Linked DNA regions of Homo sapiens: region 1 is linked to region 2. Evidence: promoter capture Hi-C in human tissues and cell types (Jung and others, 2019). All regions are on one chromosome and are shown on one strand. Each heading gives the region's core, a stretch centred on a gene start or on the middle of the fragment in contact. The rest is flanking DNA. Distances are from core to core; before and after follow the strand shown.

Region 1 (4,368 bases), core at 561-3,060, 1.6 Mb after region 2:
CAAATATATTTGACTATTTTAATTGCAAATTTCTTTTGATATGAAATGGATACTTTTTCTATTATTAGAAATAAAGTTTGAAGAATGGTTATGACTCTGCTGACTTTAACAGAGGTAAGCAGTATTTTCATGTACCTGTATGGTTTTATTAGCATCCTACTATAGTGCAAGGACTTAAAATGCTGTATACGTTTTTATTTCTACATAATATTGGCTATAGCTTCTTTTTATTGATTCTCTATAAAAATACATATAGTGGTGATAATTAATTACCTAAGTATGTGTGGCTAGTATCATGACTACCCTTGCATTTCATCTGTAAAATTCCTCTTCACTCTGAATATTACAGAGTATTCTATGGTAATAGTACTATGAGTTTACTACAATGTAATCATATGAAGACATTTATGTCCACACACTGTAACATAACTCCTATTGCAATATTAATGCTAATTATTTTCATATGCAAGCAATTTCAATTAAATATACACTTTGGCTACTTCTGGAAATGACTTAACAGCTAGTGGTCTGACTAGGAAGAATGGTGAACTAATCCCTCTAATCCCTCTCCCTAATAATTCTTGAAAACAATCAATGTCCCAGATAACAAAATAAATGAAAATACTGAACCTAAATGAATTTTGTTTGACTTAGGATTTTGTAGTCTCATTTTTATTTGTTATTATTCAATAAGTGGTTTGTGGAATGTATTTCCAAGTTCATTCAGATGAAGAAACTTCAACTAGACTTCTTAAAACTCTATTGGAGAATATATTCAAATGGAGTAGAAGAGTTTTCAGCATTTGCCCAGTGTTGCTTAGGGACCCCATATTAACATTGCTCTAGAGGGAAATGCAGGAGCTGCATGAGATTGAGTAAAATTATATTGACCCAGATGTGGAAGGAGAATTAAAATAAACAAGCCACAAATATCATTTTATTGCCAATTTATCTGATAGTGTGAAAAGTAAAGGCAAAATGTACAATTAATGTTCAATAAATATTTTTAGTAGGTGAAATGTGAAAAAATAGTAATTTTAACTGACACTGAGACAGAAAGAGAGAGCTACGAAACAATGCAAAGGAACTCTGCCATTCACTAAAAAAAAAACATATATGAATTTTACAACTTAGGAGAGTAGATAACTGTGTACCAACTGCTATAAAACATATGAGAGAAAGCAATATATGTTATGAAAATTCAGAAGATCGGAGCTCATATTGGGGACATCAAGAGAAGGATTCATGAACTTAGTATATACTTTAAGACTTGAAGGATGAATAAGATTTGGTCAACAAATCATGAGAAAAAGACATGGAAGGAATACTGTGAATAAAGCAACTGACATGGAAGTTAAAGTGTATTTTTGTGGATTAGTTAGATGGTTGGAGTTGGTTACATGAAGTGAGATATTAAAGGTAAGCAAGCTGGGGTCAACACATGGTACTTCTTGGGTGCAAAACTAAAGGGCAGTCAGTGAAGAGCCAGCTCTTTATTTTAAACAAGGTGTGCTGTGTTCCCAGCCAGCCTCACTGCTATGGCAGCGGCCAGTAGCAAAGGGGTTGCATTTTTAATAAATGTATATTCCATCACAATCTCAATTATATTATTCATAAGAACGAAAACACTAATTTGAAAAAACCAGCAACAAATAAAAACATGATACATGTATAAATTAACTTTACACTCTAAGACAAAAGTGATAAATATATAACAGTTGAGGTTATAGTAAACAGCATCAGTATATATCTTTTCCATAGAAATAAAAAAGGAAACAGCACTATACACAACACACTAAAAAGTATTAGCAGGAAACGAGAACTTTTGGTAAGTCTACAAAGCACAAACATTTAGTAGGAGATATGTGGTGTAACTTTCTAGAAGATACGTAGTTAGTAAAACAAACAAAATCAGTGTTGTTTACTACTTGTCTGGCATAGATCATTCTTAGGCATGGGAAGAAGCTTAAGATCCATTCTTAAGCATGGGATTGAGACTCTAAATATGTAAGAATTTGCACCAGAGTTACCAGAAGATTATACATGTTTATGCAAGTCAAATACTTTTGGTTTTGTAATTTTAAAATGTTGAAACTCTTACCTCTCACTACAAGGTCAGCTGAAGCTGAAGAATTGTCCACAATTGTCTGGGCAGTGCATGTGTATCTTCCAGCATGTTTCAGCTGCGCATTTCGGATTAGTAATTCCCCATTGGAATCCAGCTGTTAGCAAAAACAGCAATTATTCAAATCAGTACATTTTTCACCAATTATGTGGCATTTAAGATCCAAGAGGTAGTTTTTTCCCCTAACAAAATGAACACCACTTAAAGAATGTGTTTTAGACATGCTAACTCTATGTCCTTGCTCTAGGCTTCAGTTTCTCAACTGAAAAATAAAGTGAATAATTTATTGATAAGGTATTTTTTAGCTTTCATATCTTTAACATTCTATTATTTCCACAATCAGAGGGTTATATCGAGAGAAACTCAAGGGATGAAACTATTTCATTGATATCTCTTAAAGAGAAATATTAAGGTCTAATAAGTATCAATAAGTTTTAAGTATCAATGAGTACAAACAAATACTATATGGTTTGGAAGAATGATTGATTTGGTTTCACAAAGCTGATCTAATTGACTAGTTTTAATATGTGCCACAGTTCATTTTACAAAGATACTAAAAGTTTGCAGAAATTGAGAAAATGTACAATTCCACTAACATGTACTCTGTTGCCAAATTATAAGTTCTGCGAGGACAAGAGTATTTGTTTTGTTCAATGCTCTATTCTATTGCCTCCAAGAGTGTTCAACACATATTTTTGAGTCTTGAGGAAATTTTGCTTGTGATGATGAGACACCATTTCAATGTAATTTCCAAAAATAGCTAATAGTTATTCAATGCCTACTCTATACCGGGTCCTGGTCTGTGCAAGTATATACATACATACATACATACACACACACACACACACACACACACACATATATACACACACACATATACACATACATACACACATACAGGCACACACACACATACACACACTTTTATTCAATTCTTTTTTGACAACTGCCCTATGAGATAGGTCTTATTATATCCATTTGATTAACAGTAAAAGTTAGACTTAAGGAATCCAAGTAATTTAACTAAGATAACTAAGGTCACTCAGCTTGTATGGTAGCAGGAGCATGTCAAAGTTCATGTTAATTATCTCCAAGATATTTTCTTAGAATGAAAACTTGGAAAACTCAATTTTTAAATGGACATTTGGTTTTCCTATGAACCAAAAATATTGATTTACTATTTCAGTGATAAATATCTAGATACCTATGATGTATCATGACTGTACATGGAGTGAACGTTTTGCTTCACCATAGGTTCTACCAATAACCTCTTCATATATCATGTTCCCTCCAGTTCTTGGAAAACATTTGGGTTTGCAACCCTTGCTGGATTAATGAGGTTAAGAATAATAGCTGAGAGAGCATATTGGTATAGTTAGTTGGAACAGAATATTAATATCTCCATATAAAGAACTGATCAGTGGCCACACACCTTAATCCTTGATATTAGCCAGTCTTAATTTAATGTCGATTGAGATCTTCCAGTCCCTTGAGGTATAGATTGGTCAAAAATTGAAACAGTTCCCAAGATTTCTACAAATTCCTGCAATAGGGGAGTTTTTTTCCTTCTGTCCTCTTGGTCTGTTATTTATTTATTTATTTATTTATTTATTTATTTTTGTCATACCAGGGAGCTCCAGACTAGAAATTCAGCACTTTCTCTATTTTATCAGAAAACCAAATAGCATGAAGTCTTACCTAGTAAAGTTAGTTTACTGAACAACTGAAGGAGCTGGAACTGGTTATATCAAAAAAAAAAAAAAGGTAGGGTAAATCAACCTTGAAAAGTATCATCCACTGCATAATTCTGTTTTTAAAAGTCCTGTTGGCCGTAAATTTACTGGGAATTTCCCAGTAACCTTCACCTCTCCCAGTGCTCTGCCATCTTGTTGGCAGCCACTCCTACTACCAATCTCTTACTTCTCTCTTCTTTTCTCTTCTTTCTCTTGGAAATAAATAATTCTTATTTTCTCATATTAAGCTGTTTGATTGTTTGATTTTTACTTGGATTCTGACAATATCTATTCTGTTTTTAGTTTTTCCATTTCTTCATTTCTTACTCTTCAATCAATTCTCATCTGAGTCCCACTGCTTCAGCTCATCTTATTTGACTTCTTGATAGCATTTGGCTTTCCTTCCTCAAATACTCATTTTTTTCTAGTCATCTGACTTTCCAGGAACTTCTAGGACATTCTTAACCCCTCCCTTTCTTCAACTTTCTCATAAACTCATCATAAATTCTT
Region 2 (4,307 bases), core at 872-3,371:
GAGGCAGTAATCCTCCAGAGGGAATGACCATGTATCATCCACAGTGCTCAGGGTGTCTGCTCCACATAATAGATGCTCAACAAACAAAACCTTTGTGAAGTCACTGTACAGCAATAAGATTTATTTCACCTATGGAGGTAGTGAAATTTTCTTTGGCAGTTCTGGAGGTTAGATAGAACCTAAAAGTTGATAGCTTAATAGAAGCATTTGTAACCCCAGCAAGATAAACAGACACAACTTCAAAGGCCAATTCCAATAAAATGCTGAGGGGCAAGAAAACCTGGTTTGTTCTTTCCCAGATTCTCGTCACCTGAGGTCAGGAGTTCGAGACCAGCCTGGCCAACATGGGGAAACTGTCTCTACTAAAAATACAAAAATTACCTGGGCGCGGTGGCAGGTGCCTGTAATCCCAGCTACTCGGGAGGTTGAGGAAGGAGAATCGCTTCAACACGGGGGCGGGGCGGAGGTTGCAGTGAGCGGAGATCGCGCCACTGCACTCCAGCCTGTGTGACAAGAGCGAAACTCCGTCTCAAAAAAAAAAAAAAAAAAAAAAAAAAAAAAAAACAACGCTAGCAAGTGGAATTATTTCAAAAGCAACAGCCTTGTTTCCTGAGTGATCTGAGCTCAGGAACTCTGCCTGGGCATCTAGACAGGAGAAAGTATCTACAGCGTGGGGAGATCTGAGTCAGAATTATAGAGCACAGTGCTGAAGCCATACATTTTCCTGGATTTAGACAGTTTCCTCCTCCATTTGCCTTTATTTCCTTGCATTCTCTTTTCATCGGCTCCATTTTTGCTGAGTATTCCTTTGCTTTATTCCCAACGAAAATCGAAAAGACTTGATGTTCTGAGAAATTCTGAGACTGGCAGTTTTGATTTTTCTTAAAAGGATAAAAATTGCATCAGTCAACACCTCCCTCCACACTCCCCCCACACACATCCTCATCTTCCTGGAAGATGATACAGTATCCTAGAGCGTTGTGGAGAGGATGGAGAGGTCAAGGAAGCCCTGGCTTTGCAGAGGCACCTGTCAAGTTCGGGTTAACAGCTGCCGCCTGTGTCTGCCCTCTGCAGTCCAGGGAAATAGTACCCACACGGTGAGACTCCACCGATCCGGAACTGGAGAGGGTGGGGGGTTCTAAGGTTTAGTGTGACACAAATGTCAGGGCAGAACTTTCAAACAGGCTGAGCCCCAGTTCAACGTGGGTGAGTGCGCCTGAGAGCCCAGCTCTGGGAATTGAGCAGACTGAAAATGTGGAGAGTAGTTTGGCCAGTGAAAAATTGTCACCGTGTTCGGATCAATGCTTTGAACCCGCTTTTAAGTGCGCCACGTTCACTTGGGTCAGGCTCTGGACATTGCGGTGGGCTGAGGTTTTCGCGGGCACGATCCCCCACACTGAGTTTTCATGGAGACGACCAGGGCCGTCGAGGCGGGGAAGGGAACGGACTAGAGGCTGAACTTTGGCTTCTTGCTCTGAAAGATCACTCCTCCGGTTCCGGGGCAGAGACTCAGACCAGCCTGTGGGATTACACGAGACAGGATCGAGTCCAAACGGGTCCCCAGCTCGGCAAGGCGCGCCGGAAGGAATCTAAGTGTTTAATTAACTGCCCCCTTCACACACCCCCCGAAGGAGAAGGAACTCAAATAGGCACCCCTACCCAAATCGTTTGATCAGAGGAAATTGGGTTTGTCTCTCCCCCACCCCCCACCCCGTCCCTTCACTCTTCCTGTGTTTCAGTCCATCGGGATTGTTGGTTAAAAAAAAAAAAAAAAAAAGGCTTATAATCGGGGGCGGGGCAGAGGCTCCGAGCGAGCCGCACTTGCGACTCTGGACCGCGGTTGGTGAACTTTTTTCTCCCTGCGCATAATCCGCCTGCTGCTCTGCCCCACTGGCTGCGCGTGGAGCCGGTCCCAGGCCTGCTCGCAGCCCTGCCCCCGGGCGCGGCCCGAGCCGGGCCCGACCTCGCTTTCAGGGCCGAGCCGGGGTACGCGTGGGCGCGCGCCCAGCGGCCTCGATCCCGCGGCGGCGTCCGCGCTCCGCGTTTTCGCTCGCGCCGGGCCCCGCGGCCGAGGGCGGGGTGCGCGGCGGCGCCGCAGCGCGCGGCTCCGGAGCCCGAGCGCACTCCGCCTGCAGCCCAGCTGCCAGCGCCGTCTCCCGCGGCCGCCGCCGCCCGACAGCGCGCCCGGAACATGCCAGCCTCGCGCAGCCTGCGCTGACTTCCCCGAGACGCGCCGCGGTCGGCACGGAGACTTTCTGGGCTCTGGATGGTTCGTGCGCTGCTCACCCTCGCCCACCCCTGACGCCGCGGACCGCAGCTCCTCAGCCCCGCAGCCCCGCAGCCCAGCAGCCCCGCAGCGGCGCCGAGGACAGTGCAGCCGAGTTGCGTCTCCCTCGCGCGAGGTGAGTGGCAGCCTGGATCCCGGCGGATTCCGCAGAGGGGGCTGCGGCGCGGTGGTGGGGGGCGAGCGCCGCAGGGGTAGGGCCGGGCACCTTCGCTGGCACCGCCGGAGTCTGTGACACCCAGACTGGGTCGGTGTCGCAGAAGATCAGGGAGAAGGTCATAATCGGTTTGTTGGGCTGTGTAGACAGGGAAAGCAGATATTGGCTGCAGCATCGCCAGGGCTCCGCAGAGGCTCTCCGCATGGCTCCTGTTTGCTGCATCACAACCAACTCTTCCCTTGGTTTTCTCCGGCGTGGAAACAGGTTCTGTAGCCCGAGGGTCGAGGCGATGCGGGGCGCCGGGAGGCGAGGGTGCGTTGGCGTGTTCCCGCCGCTTAGGATCGCCTGTCACCTACTGGCGTCCGGAGGGAGGGTACCGATTCTCTCCTCTAGCGCTGGGGAAAGGGGCTGGTGGCTTTTTGGCAGAGGCGAATCAACTCCCACCACTCTCCCCAACCCCCTGCCCCGCGATGGTGTTTGCTGAATGTAGCACAGATATAGGGAAAAAATGGGAGCGTCTTCCTCTCTTGAGGTAGAAAAAGTTGAAGAAACTAGGCATGTTAATAGTTATTAGGAGCGGGACTCAGGATGCAGCAGAAAGCTGTTAAATTTTCATTACCCTCTAAGAAAAACAAACGGCATCGCCAGTGACTATTGGCAGTGCTGTGTTATTCTTGGGACTTTGGGAAAATTGTTCACAGATTGTCTTCAGGAGGCTGAAGAACGAGGTTGGGGGTTGGGAGAGAGGGAGGACGGCTGCATCACGCTTAGTTCCAGCTTGCCTAAGGAGGGTTCAGGATCACAAGCCGAACGCGTTTGGTTGCTGATTTTTAAAAGGGTATCAGCGGCAGAACTGAGACCATGAACAAGGCAAACACACCACGGGAACCAGCCTAAAGGAAAAAAAAAAAGCACCAACAACTACAACCAAAAAAACATGTAAAAATCTGCCTCTCCTGCAGAGTTAACATGCATTTGTGCTATCAAATGGATGCATGTATATGTGTCTTTTAGGATAAGTTTTATGAATGACAAATCACTGAAATGGTATCTTGTATCTGTTCATGCATACAGTGTTGTCTACTGCCTCGTCTTAATCAGTACTTTGGAAGGCTGTGCCTGCAGTTGATGTTATATAATTGATGTGGTTCACCATCAGACATTTTTTAATGTACTTTAGGAGTAGAGGGAACTTCCATCTGTCTTTTCAGACAGGCCCAAGGTGTAGACTGGTGAGGGTTGCTAATGTTTGCCGTAGTCCGGCTCCAGATGTGTGAGCTCAGCTGTTGCCTGTCACTTAGGTGACAACTGGCCCTTTCCCACTAAGCCTTTGCTGTCTCCATTATCCTCAGTGAAGTGTCAGTGTTCAGCCGCCTTCTATTATCAGGAGTGGACTCTAGCCCCTTGGGAGCCGGCAGCCTTGTTTGACCGTCCCCAACATTATGTCTGTTTTCAGACTCTAGAAAGGAAAAAAAAAACAAAAAAAAATCCCATGACAGCAAGATAGATACATTTTGAATTGAGCATCAACTTAATCCAAAGATTCTGCTTTAATCAAGACAGTTCTGTAAGGATGACGCAGTATTTGTCAAGGCTTTTCTCTGGAACAATATTTACTCCCACCAGGGGATTTTAAACTTAAACAGCAGCCATTCATCTTGCTGTCTGGTGGAGCCTGGTTCAGTTTGCCTCCAATGTGGTCCTAGCCTTGGTGGCTAGGCTTGGCCTGGGACAGGAATCTGTCATTGTAGCCCAGCTGGAGCCTGAAGAAAGCAAAATACAGCACCTGCTGGTACCAGAGGGTTTCTAAATGCCATCAACTGGCGAGTCAGGAAACACAGAAGGAGATATTTTACCAGCTCTTCC

Evidence for each region. The method cuts DNA at HindIII sites, captures the fragments that hold promoters and counts their contacts. A contact is called where the count stands out against the background at its distance.
Region 1: a fragment that was not itself captured here is called in contact with the fragment with the promoter of PRICKLE1 in region 2 in 1 of the 25 tissues and cell types used here (mesenchymal stem cells).

Annotation. Positions count from the first base shown.
Region 1 is chr12:40,956,968-40,961,335 of GRCh38, reverse strand. CNTN1 (contactin 1) reads right to left here. Exons shown (of 24, transcript NM_001843.4): 15 at 2,102-2,222. Among named protein-coding and RNA genes, the nearest start is that of PDZRN4, 230 kb to the left of the region's middle. The HindIII fragment of the contact is 4,788 bases long and covers 1-4,204 here.
Region 2 is chr12:42,587,560-42,591,866 of GRCh38, reverse strand. It overlaps PRICKLE1 (prickle planar cell polarity protein 1), which reads left to right and starts at 2,121. Exons shown (of 8, transcript NM_153026.3): 1 at 2,121-2,402. RefSeq lists an enhancer at 841-1,398 and a silencer at 1,868-2,117. The HindIII fragment of the contact is 9,160 bases long and covers 1-4,307 here.